Regions from separate parts of the Homo sapiens genome. Here region 1 is linked to region 2. The links are contacts of gene promoters, found by promoter capture Hi-C in blood cells and fetal thymus (Javierre and others, 2016). All regions are on one chromosome and are shown on one strand. The core of a region is centred on a gene start or on the middle of the fragment in contact, and the rest is flanking DNA. Distances in the headings are between cores, read along the strand shown. Region 1 holds the start of ATP6V0A1 (ATPase H+ transporting V0 subunit a1). Region 2 overlaps STAT5A (signal transducer and activator of transcription 5A).

Region 1 (6,174 bases), core at 288-2,787, 150 kb after region 2:
CACCCAGGAAGACAGAATAACCGGTTTTCTGAGTTTTTCCTGATACAATTCTGGTTATCACAAACGACTTGAGATCCCTACTCTTCTTTAAAAGGGCAAGAAAAGGGAATCAATATCAATATTTGATAATGGCATTTAAAAAATAATAGACATCACTTTTGCGTTTAAAAAATGTTTTTCAATATTTAATTTACAAGTTGAGTACAAGCCATAAAAAATGTTTTTAAAATAAATTTGAGGAATTGAAAACTCCTAAGTGGTCAATTGAGCCCACATGAATCTACCAAACAAGACTGAAATGTACTTTCACAACATATGGTCTGATGAGGTTTTTCCTGTTAAACAGAGAAAAATAGACCCGGGGAAGTTGCTGGAAGGCATGAACCATGTACCATTTAAAGAGAGGTTTTCCATACTTATGCAAATGAGACCCCGTTAAAGACTCTACTACAGGATCTAAAGCTAGCCGCTCCCCAGTCTGGGGCTCAAATGTTCTCATCTGTAAAATAAGGGAAAAGAGAAAGGGTGGTATATGTGTCTGCGTATTAATTATTTGAGTGTGTGTGTGAATTCTTTGGATATGAAAATAAAGAGAGAAGACATTAATTATTTGGGTGCGTATGTGTGAATTAATTCTTTGGATATGAAAATAAAGAGAGGGCCGGGCGCGGTGGCTCACACCTGTAATCCCAGCACTTTGGGAGGCCGAGGCGGGTGGAGGCCAGGACCAGTCTGGGCAACATGGCGAAACCCCATCTCTACAAAAAATACAAAAATAGCCGGGTGGCGTGGTGCGTGCCTGTAATCTCAGCTACTAGGGAGGCTGAGGCAGGAGAATCCCCTGAACCCGGGAGGCGGAGGCTGCAGTGAGCCGAGAACGCGCCACTGCATTCCCGCCTGGGAAACAGACCATCTAAAAAAAAAAAAAAAAAAAAAAAAAAAAGGCCGGGCGTGGTGGCTCACGCTTGTAATCCCAACACTTTGGGAGGCCGAGGCGGGTGGATCACGAGGTCAGAATTCGAGACTCAGCCTGGCCAACATAGTGAAACCCCGTCTCTACTTAAAAAAAAAAAAAATACAAAAATTAGCCGGGCATGGTGGTGCGTGCCTGTAGTCCCAGCTACTTGGGAGGCTGAGGCAGGAGAATCGCTTGAACCCGGGAGGTGGAGGTTGCAGTGGGCCGAGATCACGCCACTGCACTCCTGCTTGAGCAACAGAATGAGACTTCAAAAAAAAAAAAAGAAAGAGAAAAGACAACCTACCCCAGTATAAGGGGTAAGAAAAAGGATTCAGGGAGGCTCAGGAACTTAAGGCCTCGAGCACCTGCACCTCCAGCCCCACCCGCTAACCCTCCCCAGCGTGGAGATACAGCACAGGGGCCAACATGGCGTCAGCACGCTGGGTCTCGCCTGCGACCCCCGTGACTCCGCACTGCTGCAGCCCGGGCGAGGCTGCGCCCCATTGGCCAACTGCAATGAGGTCATTGCGGGGGCGGGGGCCGGCGGCGGCGCAGGGGCGGGGCTTTACGGACGCAAGCACGTCGAAGCGCTGCTCCTGGAGCCGCGGAGGGTGCGGGTTTGGCTGCGGTGGTTTCTGTGGCGGTTGCTGTGGCGGAGTTTGGAGGTGAGTGGGGGCTGTAGGTTTAGCGCAACAGGGAGCGGCCCTCGATGGACGTAGGAAATCCTTCTAAGAGCCCCCTTGATTGTCAGAGGAATTAGCGGGGATCTGACGTCTTCGAGATAAAATGGGGGTTCGCCCCCTCCTTGGGCACCCCTCCTCTGCCCTGAGGAACCGGAGGCTCACTGCCCTTTGGAAGCCCCGCATCTCTTCCCTGCTTTAAGGGGTAGGCGGAGGAACCGGAGGTTATTGGATAGGCAGAAGAATTTAGGGGGCTTCTTAAAGGGTTTCTCAGTTTGGGGGTTTTCCTCTCCTTTTTTCCCATCTCAAGGTAGATGAGCCTGAGTCCAGAGAATTCCTGCTCATTGGGTAGACAGGAAATGAAGCAGGTGAATACCGTGGGAGGAGGCGAGGACCGGATGACAGGAGTGAGATTCTTCTAGGCAGGGCGCGGGGGCGCTGTAGTTGGACTCATCTTTTGCAGAATTGCTGTTTCTTCATATTTTGTTTTGTGATCGTCCAGAACTACTTTGGCCTAATTAGTTTTCTGTTAGCCTCCATTGCTATAGAGATATTCTTGGGAGACCTATAATCATTAAAGAGCAGGAGGACGGAGGCGACTCGTTGGAGGCTTATCATTATCCACAGCTCCTGAACTATGCTGACCAGGCCTAATTTTATGTGTTTAGAGGTTGTAGAATCTCTCTTTGTTTAAGGGTGGTGCCGGTAACAGCTGATTTGGATGATTCAGATGTACAGAATCTTAAAGTCAGCCTGCATATTCTCTTGAGAAGTCCTTGCTTATGTCTGAGCTTGTGTTACTGTCTTGAACATCACATGCACAAAGGTTTGTTCGTTCAGATTTCTCAAAATGTCTCCCAGCCTTCCAGAAGAGTAAATCTTCCTTTGATGTCAGACTCATCTATCAGTACTCAGTATAGATGCCCTTATGACACTAAAAATACTGTGCATTTTTCTGAGTTTGGATACTGGACAGGCTGTGCCTTACATTAGCTGATCGAGAATAAATAATTGCAGTTTCAGGACCACTGATAGCGCCAGTTGTCTCATACCCGGCAACAGTAAGACAGCACTAAAACGAAACCTTTATTGGCTCATGAGATTTGACAGATGGAAGAATGTAATTAATCTTGAAGGTAGGGTTGAGAAACAGAAAGCTGCAGAGGTGGAAGGCTTATTCTCTGTGGCTTGATAAAACTGCTTTGTCATTATCAGTGTGTTCCTGTCATGCTTGATTTGAAATTGAGCTTAATATGCAAACTGGTTGCTTTTTCCAGATGACGGTTATTTGTTTGAATTCCTAAGTGGGGAAATATTGTTTTCTGAGGAATCTGGAAGATTAAACCCTTTAGTGTAGCCATAGCTTTAGGATAGTGCCAGAACTTTGGGCTTTTAGAAATGCGCATTGTCAGTAGAAGGGAGAAGGATAGTTACAAGGCAGACATCTTTATGAGAGGGTATTGAAGGCCTCTTCTGTTTGTTTCCTGCACTAGCAAAAACAGATTGAGCAGTGTGAAACTCACTGCCTCAATATTGTGTCCTGGGTATTTAAAGAGTTGTTTGAGGTTCCCAGTTCCTGTCTTTAATCTGGATACATTCTTATCAGTTGAGTTGCCCAAAATAATTGTCATTTGATCCTGATGTTGACTGGAATGGAAGTGACTTTTCATCTGACACTCTGTGGGACAGAATTCAGGAACTGCCTTTGCAATTTCTCCTTTCCATCTTTCTAGACAGGGTGTCAAAAACAGTTGTTGACCTGTCCTCATGGGGTGTTAGAAATGTAAATGCAAGAGCCGTAGTGGGGTGTCATTTGCTCTTAGCCCTCGTGGTAATTTCCAAAGTTATGTCATTTTCTCTTTGCTTCAGGTTGGAGAGAAATCCAGGTACTCACTAGACTGGTACCTTCTGCCACCATGGGGGAGCTTTTCCGGAGTGAAGAAATGACACTGGCCCAGCTTTTTCTACAGTCAGAGGCTGCTTATTGTTGTGTCAGTGAATTAGGAGAACTTGGAAAGGTTCAGTTTCGTGACGTAAGTAGTTGTGGGGCTGCGACTTGATTACTGCTGAACTCTATTGCTATCGTGGTCAGATGCCTTATGATGAATGTTTTGTTTTTTATTTGCAAAAATAACATTATAGCACTGACTTCCTATTGGCAGAATGCACATTTTGAGTTGTCTTTCTAAAGGTGAGAATGTTTTGTGCCAATCTTTACATGCTTTTGCTAGCTCCCACTTTCAGAACAGTCCTAAGCATTCTCCAGGTAATTGTTTGGGATGCAGGGAGAGGTTACCAAACTAACCTGATCAAGGCTTTCACTTGCTAAATAGCAAGGTATTTAAAAAAATATATTGCAGTTTTTCCATATAGTAGGACATTTTAAAAAAAATAAAATTTGAGGTATCCAGCTACAGATATATAGTATATAAATAAGCATATACTGAATATTCATTATTTTGGAATATTATACTGGGCACTTGGAGAAGCTATCTAAAGAATATGGACAATCTAGCCTGGGTACAGTGGCTCACGCCTATAATCCTAACACTTTGGGAGGCTGAGGCGGGCGGATCGGGAGGTCAGGAGTTTGAGATCAGTCTGGCCAACATGGTGAAACCCCGACTCTACTAAAAATACAAAAAAAATTAGCATGGTGGCGCAGGCCTGTAATCCCAGCCACTCGGGAGGCCGAGGCAGGAGAATCGCCTGAACCTGGGAGGCGGAGGTTGCAGTGAGCCGAGATTGTGTGATTGCACGCAGCCTGGGCGACAGAGCAAGACTCCGTCTCAAACAACAACAACAACAACAAAAAACTTGTCATCCTTAATTTGCAGTTCTTCATCTGGTCCTATGTTGTCCCTCTGCTTAACATCTATTGGCTCTATTCAGCCTTCTTTTCTTTTACTTATGCTGTACTTCAGTCATACAAAAAAAAGAGATAGGGGCCAGGTGCAATGGCTCACACCTGAAATGCCAGTACTTTGAGAGGCCAAGGCAGGAGGATCGCTTGAGCCCAGGAGTTGGAGACCAGTCTGGGCAACATAGGGAGATCCCGTCTCTGCCAAAAAAAAAAAAAAAAAAAAAAATGCCGGATGTGGTGGCACATGGCTGTGGTCCCAGCTGCTTGGGAAGCTAAGGTGGGAGGATCGCTGAAGCCCAGGAGGTCGAGGCTGTAGTGAGCTGTGATTATGCCACTGCACTCCAGCCTGGGTGACAGAGCATGACACTGTCTCAAAACCAAAAAAAAAAAAAGAGGTGGGGGGAGTATTATAATGACCACCTATGTTTCTACTATCTGCTTAAGAGGGAAACATTCCGTGTATAATTGAAACCTCTGTTTCTCTTTGCTCCATGCCAGTCCTTTCTTCCACCCCAGAGGTAACCCGTACAGTGATTTGTTTTGCTTTTATTTCTCCTATGTGTGGTTTTTGTTGTTGTTGTTGTTGCTTTTCTTTTTGAGACAGAGTCCACTCTGTCGCCCAGGCTGGAGTGCAGTGGTGTGATCTCAGCTCATTGCAGCCTCCGCCTCCCAGGTTCAAGCAATTCTCCTGCCTCAGCCTCCTGAGTAGCTGGGACTAAAGGCATGCACCACCATGCCCAGCTAATTTTTGTATTTTTAGTAGAGACGGGGTTTCACCACATTGGCCAGGCTGGTCTCGAACTTCTGACCTCTGGTGATCCACCCGCCTCGGCCTCCCAAAGTGCTGGGATTACAGGCATGAGCCACCATACCTGGCCAACAGATATTTCAGTTTCTTCTAGTTCTGTTAATTTTTTTTTAATAATAAAATTTATAACATTAAGAAAAAAAATAGAGATGGGGGTCTCGCCATGTTACCCAGGTTGGTCTTGAACTCCTGGACTCAAGCGGTTCTCCTGCCTCAGCCTCCCAAAGTGCTAGGATTACCGGTGTGAGCCACTGTGCCTGGCTGAAATGTACACATCTTAAGAGTACAATTTGCTGAATTGATAACTTTATACACCTCTGTAACCAGCACCCCAATCAGGATATGGAACTTTTTTTTTTTTTTTTTTTTTTTTGGAGACAGAATCTTGCTCTGTCGCCCAGGCTGGAGTGTAGTGGTGCGATCTTGGCTCACTGCAACCTCCGTCTCCTGGGTTCAAGCAATCCTCCCTCAGCCTCCTGAGTAGCTGGGACTACAGGCGCACACCGCCGAGCCCGGCTAATTTTTTTTTTCTATTTTAGTAGAGATGGAGTTTCACCATGTTGCCCAGGCTGGTCTCGAACTCCTGACCTCAGGTGATCCATCCCCCCTCAGCCTCCCAAAGTGCTAGGATTACAGACGTGAGCCACCAGGCCCAGACTGAACATTTTCATCAGTCCAGAAAAGTATCTGTGTCTACTGCTAGTCAGTTGCTACCCTTCATAGGTAACCTCTGTTTTGATTGCTGTCATCATAGGATTAGTTTTCCCTGTTCTTGAATTATATGTAAACGACTCATACATTGCAAACTCATGTCTGACTTCTTTCACTCAGCCTCTGTTTCTTGCATGTATCCGTAGTTCATTTT
Region 2 (6,729 bases), core at 1,148-3,647:
GGCCTTGGTTTTCTCGTCTATAAAACGGGGTCAATACCCACTCTCCAGTTGGCTGTAAAAATTGGAGTCATGTGCTCAATAGGCTCAGCTGTTCTAGGTGCTCAGTGAAAAGATTCAGCTGTTCTAAGTGCTCAGTGAACGGGGCGGTGCCTACCATTGCAGCTGAGCATCATTGCAGGTGGGCAGAGCCCACTGTGTCAGCCACCTGGTTTTAAGATGAGGACACGGAGAGGGGAAATGAATTCCCTAAGATTATTCAGTGAGTTAGCAAGAGATGCGAATAGAGTGGGGGTCTGCAGAAGCCAGTGGGCTGACTGCTACCCAGCTTGGGGTGGGGTGGGGGCATCCAGCCAGAACTGGTCCTGTTCTCATGAGACGGGTTTGAGTGGAGAGCAGGCTGGAGGCTGTCCCCAGGGAGCTTGAGGCTGTGAGACATGCCAGCTCCCTCTGACATCCCCCTGTCTTTACCAGCCCTGACCATGTACTCGATCAGGATGGAGAATTCGACCTGGATGAGACCATGGATGTGGCCAGGCACGTGGAGGAACTCTTACGCCGACCAATGGACAGTCTTGACTCCCGCCTCTCGCCCCCTGCCGGTCTTTTCACCTCTGCCAGAGGCTCCCTCTCATGAATGTTTGAATCCCACGCTTCTCTTTGGAAACAATATGCAATGTGAAGCGGTCGTGTTGTGAGTTTAGTAAGGCTGTGTACACTGACACCTTTGCAGGCATGCATGTGCTTGTGTGTGTGTGTGTGTGTGTGTCCTTGTGCATGAGCTACGCCTGCCTCCCCTGTGCAGTCCTGGGATGTGGCTGCAGCAGCGGTGGCCTCTTTTCAGATCATGGCATCCAAGAGTGCGCCGAGTCTGTCTCTGTCATGGTAGAGACCGAGCCTCTGTCACTGCAGGCACTCAATGCAGCCAGACCTATTCCTCCTGGGCCCCTCATCTGCTCAGCAGCTATTTGAATGAGATGATTCAGAAGGGGAGGGGAGACAGGTAACGTCTGTAAGCTGAAGTTTCACTCCGGAGTGAGAAGCTTTGCCCTCCTAAGAGAGAGAGACAGAGAGACAGAGAGAGAGAAAGAGAGAGTGTGTGGGTCTATGTAAATGCATCTGTCCTCATGTGTTGATGTAACCGATTCATCTCTCAGAAGGGAGGCTGGGGTTCATTTTCGAGTAGTATTTTATACTTTAGTGAACGTGGACTCCAGACTCTCTGTGAACCCTATGAGAGCGCGTCTGGGCCCGGCCATGTCCTTAGCACAGGGGGGCCGCCGGTTTGAGTGAGGGTTTCTGAGCTGCTCTGAATTAGTCCTTGCTTGGCTGCTTGGCCTTGGGCTTCATTCAAGTCTATGATGCTGTTGCCCACGTTTCCCGGGATATATATTCTCTCCCCTCCGTTGGGCCCCAGCCTTCTTTGCTTGCCTCTCTGTTTGTAACCTTGTCGACAAAGAGGTAGAAAAGATTGGGTCTAGGATATGGTGGGTGGACAGGGGCCCCGGGACTTGGAGGGTTGGTCCTCTTGCCTCCTGGAAAAAACAAAAACAAAAAACTGCAGTGAAAGACAAGCTGCAAATCAGCCATGTGCTGCGTGCCTGTGGAATCTGGAGTGAGGGGTAAAAGCTGATCTGGTTTGACTCCGCTGGAGGTGGGGCCTGGAGCAGGCCTTGCGCTGTTGCGTAACTGGCTGTGTTCTGGTGAGGCCTTGCTCCCAACCCCACACGCTCCTCCCTCTGAGGCTGTAGGACTCGCAGTCAGGGGCAGCTGACCATGGAAGATTGAGAGCCCAAGGTTTAAACTTCTCTGAAGGGAGGTGGGGATGAGAAGAGGGGTTTTTTTGTACTTTGTACAAAGACCACACATTTGTGTAAACAGTGTTTTGGAATAAAATATTTTTTTCATAAATTTGCTGCTATGGCTCCTGGTTGGGGCGTTGGTGGCCTCCCTGGGTGATGGGAACCCCTGGAGCTGGTTGTTCTGTTCCTTCCCGCGTGCATGCCTGATGCTGTCATTTTTAGTCTTAAATTTTAACTCTGCCCGCTTTGCTGTGGTTTTCAGGGTGCTGGCCACCCCTGGAATACTGTCAATGCTTCTCAGAAGGGTAAGGAGCCAGTTTAGGGGGCACAGATTCCTTAAAAAGCAGGGGACTCGAGGTTTGGGGAAATGATGGAGATGGGCGCGGGTGGGCAGAACTCTGACCCAGGCTTCTCCTTAGCAGCTGCTGCTCCCAGCAGCCTCGAAGCTGGCGGCTGAGGGCCCGGCGCCAAGATGCTTCTCAACCCTCGGGGCCAGGGGCAGTCCCAGAGCCGCAACAACCGTCCCATCCTCCTCCTTCCCAGAGACCAGCAGGTGGCACCACGCGGCTGCGCTGTTTTCAGCTGGCTGCCGGCGACTGTGCGAGGCGGAGGTGCAGCAAGCGGGACCGGCTCGCCCCGGCTGGACCCCCGCACTGCCGGCTGCAGCCAGTCCCTGCTGTCGCTGGGGCCCTTGGGCTCAGGGACGCGCGCTCCCTGGGCGGGGCTGGGAGCCAGGTTTGCGGGCAGGTTCCTTCTGAGCTCAGAGCTCAAGCGAGGGAGAGGGGCGGCGCGTGGGCCCCAAGAGGGAGGTGCAGGGGGCCCAGAGCAGGGGGAAGGCGGGGGTGGGAGAAGAGAGGAGGGGAGGGGACGGGCAGGTGCCACCGCCCCAGGGGGCTAATCTGATCCATCTCTGCGAGGGAAGGTGCTCGCTCGTAGCTCCCAGGCGCGGTCTCCAGGGCGCTGGGGCACGTGTAGGGGTGGGGAGAAGCCCTGTGGGCGCCCGCGTAGCTGAGGTTGGGGCGCCTTTCCCTGCATTATCACCGCTGGCTGCCGGGGGCCCTGCAGCCACCACCGGGTGTCTGCGTGTTGTCCCCGCTGGGTGAACTGAAGGGAAAGTGATAAAGGAGCCAACTGTGGAAGGGGAGGCCTTGGTGCGGTGGGAGTATCTACCCCCCACCCCGCTTAGGTGGCTTATCTGACCCCAGACAGGACGAGGCCGCTCTGGGGGGTAGGAGGGGGCCGGGGAGGGAGGCCTCCACTCTGACACCTTTCTGCCGTTGGACTATTGACCTCCTGCTCCTCCAGGCACCCCTTACCTCCGGGCTGGTGGCTAACATAAGGGGGTTGGCGGGGGGGATTAAGGCAACCACCTCCTCTCAAGACCCTTTCCGGCCCTTATCCCAGGCCCCACCTGTGTGTGAGGCCCCCTCAGAACTTATGCAGGGGAAAAGGAAGCCTCCACCAGCCAAACAGAGCTGCCATGCTATCAGACGGTTCCTATATAACGTTTATTTCTGGAAGTTAAAGTAGATACAGCAATATACCAAAAAAAAAAAAAAAAAAAAAAGACAAAAAACCTCACAATAATATAAATTTTTACACTATGAAGTACACATTGGAATTTGAATGCAGTGGCCAGGACAGCAGCTTATAAACCACCTTATAGGTAGGTAAGCAACCCACGGGATTCCCTCGGCTGGGCTGGGGATGGGGAGGGGGCAGTGGACAGGAAGCGGGCAGGGCCTGAGGACCCTGTTCTTTAATGGGCCACAACAGGGCTCAGCTCCTCTCAGAACTTTTGCTACAATCAGAGTTAAGACCAGATACATGCTACCTAAGGCCATGAACTTGACAATATCTGCTCCAGAGAAGCCCTGAACCCTCGCCCTAGGTCCCTATGATTTAAACCCAATGGTAAGCCCAAGTCTCACCTTTCTAAATATTCTGTTTATCAGTTAAGCTTATTATGTACTGAAGAGTGTTGCTGGAGAAGTAAGAGCTCTGCATGACACATCAACTGTCTCCAGGCAGGAGGACTGGGGCGAACCCTGTTCATCTTAGAGAAGGTCGTCTCCCCCTTAATTCAGAGACCAGCTAATTTGATTTAACAAACAGAATTCCACAGAAACTCTGATCAGCTGAGGCAAGGTGGTTTTGAGTTGCCAAATCCGGCCATGCCTCTGAGTCAGAGGCAGCCCATCCAGCACGTGCTAGGTGTTCCCATACGCACAGGAGAGGCGAGCTAGCCAGCCAAGGCGGGCAGGCGGGGAGGCCCTCTAGCTGTTCTGCCTCACCTGTGGGGCCCCAGCAGGGAGGAGTCACCAGCCTCAGAGGGAGGCCAGGTATACACCCTCATACGAGGGCAGACTCAAGTTTATCAGTAAGCCTTTGCCCTGCATGAACTGAATGAAGACGCCATTACAAGTGCCACTGGATATCACCAAGAAACTGGCTAAGAACCATATTCCCTGAGCTCAACCAGACACGTCGCTGGGGCCCCATAGTGTGCATCATGTCCAACCTGTAACTCTCTCCCCCTCTTCTTCCATGAGGTCCTGAGACCAGGATTCCTAAAACAAACAGGATGAGGGACCTTTAGACACGCAAGGAGACATGCCTCTAGCAGGATCAGGGGGACTGGGGTCGGGAGGGTGGGGCAGGAAGGAAGCCAGAATCAGAAGTATCCCAGCCCTGATAAGGCACCCACAGAAACAACCTAGCCTCTGAAACAGCAGATCAAGTCCAGGGAGAAAGGGAGTCAAGGTTGTAAGCACCCTCTGCCCAGCCTTACTCACTAAAAGGCCAATACATTACAAAGGAAAATAAGTCTATTTATAAAAAAAAGTCTAAAATGCTTAGATTCTCCTTAAACCTTCCTATTTCAACACCAAAGGCCAGGTTGCAGCTTCAGATGTCTTAAGGGTTTGACCTGAAGCCCGTTTCAGGGATTATATAAATTACCAGCCTGAAGGAAGCTGAATGCTTAAAGCACCAAGGAGGCTGTTAACTGAAGTTTCTTTTTTTTTTTTTTTTTTTTGAGACAGAGTCTCAGACTGTCGCCCAGGATGGAGTGCAGTGTGCAGTGGTGCAATTTTGGCTCACTGCAACCTCCGCCTCTCAGGTTCAAGCGATTCTCCTGCCTCAGCCTCCCGAGTAGCTGGGACTACAGGCGCCCACCACCACACCCAGCTAATTTTTTGTACTTTTAGTAGAGACGGGGTTTCACCGTGTTAGCCAGGATGGTCTTGATCTCCTGACCTTATGATCCGCCTCGGCCTCCCAAAGTGCTGGGATTACAGGCGTGAGCCACCATGCCCGGCTGCTTAAGTTTCTTAAATACAGAAAGGCTATGCTGATACAGTGTTTTTTGCCCTTTAATTGTTATTATTTCTTAATTTAAAAAGAAACCTAGGGCTTAGATAGTCCTATCTTCTATTTGGATGTCAGCAAGGTTAAAAAGTGCAATGCCAGGAGTATGTAGCTATAGGTGGCCTGTGGCATTTGCTTACAGAAACAGGCAGAAGGATGCCGCAGGCACCAGGAGGCACTTGTCTAAGAACAACAACAACAATAACAAAAAGCTGCTGAGAAAGGAGGGCAGGGGAACAAAACAACACAAGACATTTCCTTTTTCTCCCTCTAGCCACCCCCCGCCACATCCCCTGATCATGGGTCTCAGAGAACACATCCTTATTTGCATTTAGATAAAAGCAGATCACCCACATTCACTCATTTCTCTATTTTTAAAAGTGCCCAGATTGCTCAAAGATAGCAGAAGTAGGAGATTAAAAAAAATCTGGAACCACAAAGTTAGTAGTTTCAGATGATCTGGGGTTTGGCTGTGTGAGGGGTGGCAGAATGCAGGTAGGCGCCTCAGTCGTATCTTTCTGCAGCTTCCGTTCTCAGCTCCTCACATGGGGGAGGTAGCGCACTCCGAGGTCAACTCCATGTCAAAGGTGAGGGACTCTGGAGGGACAGACAGGGAAAACTAGTTCAGTTGTCCACCCTCTGCAACTGGCAGGCCACGCCCCCAGCCCTTCAGAGGACAGGGCCCAGGCTACCACTGCTATCCAATCTCCTGCCCCTTAAGGCCCAGGGATGGTCAGAAAAGCCAGATTTACCCTCCTCCCTGGAGGACCCTGCCTCGGGAAGGGTCCTTTCTCATTCCCACCTTAACTGATTCCCAGAGCTCCATGTTTACAGAAGCTCTAAGGCTGTCCTGAGATCTTCTGCCCTTGATCTACTGTTTAATTCAGGAGCCCCGAGACACACGTGGCCACCAAGCATTTGAGATTTGGTTTGTCCAAACTGAGCTGTGCTGTGGCTGTCAAAAGCCCACTGGATTTTAAAGGCTTAGTATGAAAAAAAAGAATAAAAAAAGGTCTCAACTTTTTCTTTTTAGTTTAGTTTTGTTTATTTGAGATGGAGTCTCACTCTGTCGCCCAGGCTGGAGTGCAGTGGCACGATCTCTGCTCACTGCAACCTCCACCTCCCAGGCTCAAGCGATCCTCCCACCTCAGCTTCTTGAGTAGCTGGGATTACAGGTATGCGCCACCATGCCCAGCTAATTTTTATATTTTAGAGATTTTGGTCAGACTGGTCTCGAACTCCTGACCTCAAGTGATCCACCCACCTCGGCCTCCCAAAGTGCTGGGATTACAGGCATGAGCCACTCACCCAGCCTCAACTTTTTCTGAAATGTTAAATTGAGAGTATGTTGGATTTAGTGGGTTAAATAAAATATATTGTAAAAATTAAGTTCGTCTATTTCCAGTGTGGCTGCTAGAAGATTTATACTCACACATGTGGCATTCATACCATCTCTTTTGGAAAGCAAAGCTCTAGAATCTCCTACCATTCCGAGTGACCAGCTCTCGGTGTGTACATGTGAGAGCATCACACAAAGGGGACCAACTTCCCTTATAGGGAC

What was found. Contacts are between HindIII fragments. The CHiCAGO score rates a contact against its expected background, and 5 or more counts as called.
Region 1: a contact is called between the fragment with the promoter of ATP6V0A1 here and a fragment that was not itself captured in region 2, in 17 of 17 cell types (megakaryocytes, total B cells, naive B cells and 14 more). The highest score is 17.6, in megakaryocytes.

The regions. Positions count from the first base shown.
Region 1 is chr17:42,457,341-42,463,514 of GRCh38, forward strand. ATP6V0A1 (ATPase H+ transporting V0 subunit a1) reads left to right here and starts at 1,538. Exons shown (of 22, transcript NM_001130021.3): 1 at 1,538-1,623; 2 at 3,508-3,671. The coding sequence starts at 3,555. RefSeq lists an enhancer at 1,158-1,247 and a silencer at 1,398-1,607. The HindIII fragment of the contact is 8,228 bases long and covers 1-6,174 here.
Region 2 is chr17:42,310,036-42,316,764 of GRCh38, forward strand. STAT5A (signal transducer and activator of transcription 5A) reads left to right here. Exons shown (of 19, transcript NM_001288718.2): 19 at 472-1,908. The coding sequence ends at 634. STAT3 (signal transducer and activator of transcription 3) reads right to left here. Exons shown (of 24, transcript NM_139276.3): 24 at 3,289-5,765. The coding sequence ends at 5,710. Among named protein-coding and RNA genes, the nearest start is that of STAT5A, 25 kb to the left of the region's middle. RefSeq lists an enhancer at 856-905 and silencers at 2,158-2,297, 2,368-2,467, 2,588-2,747. The HindIII fragment of the contact is 2,719 bases long and covers 1,039-3,757 here.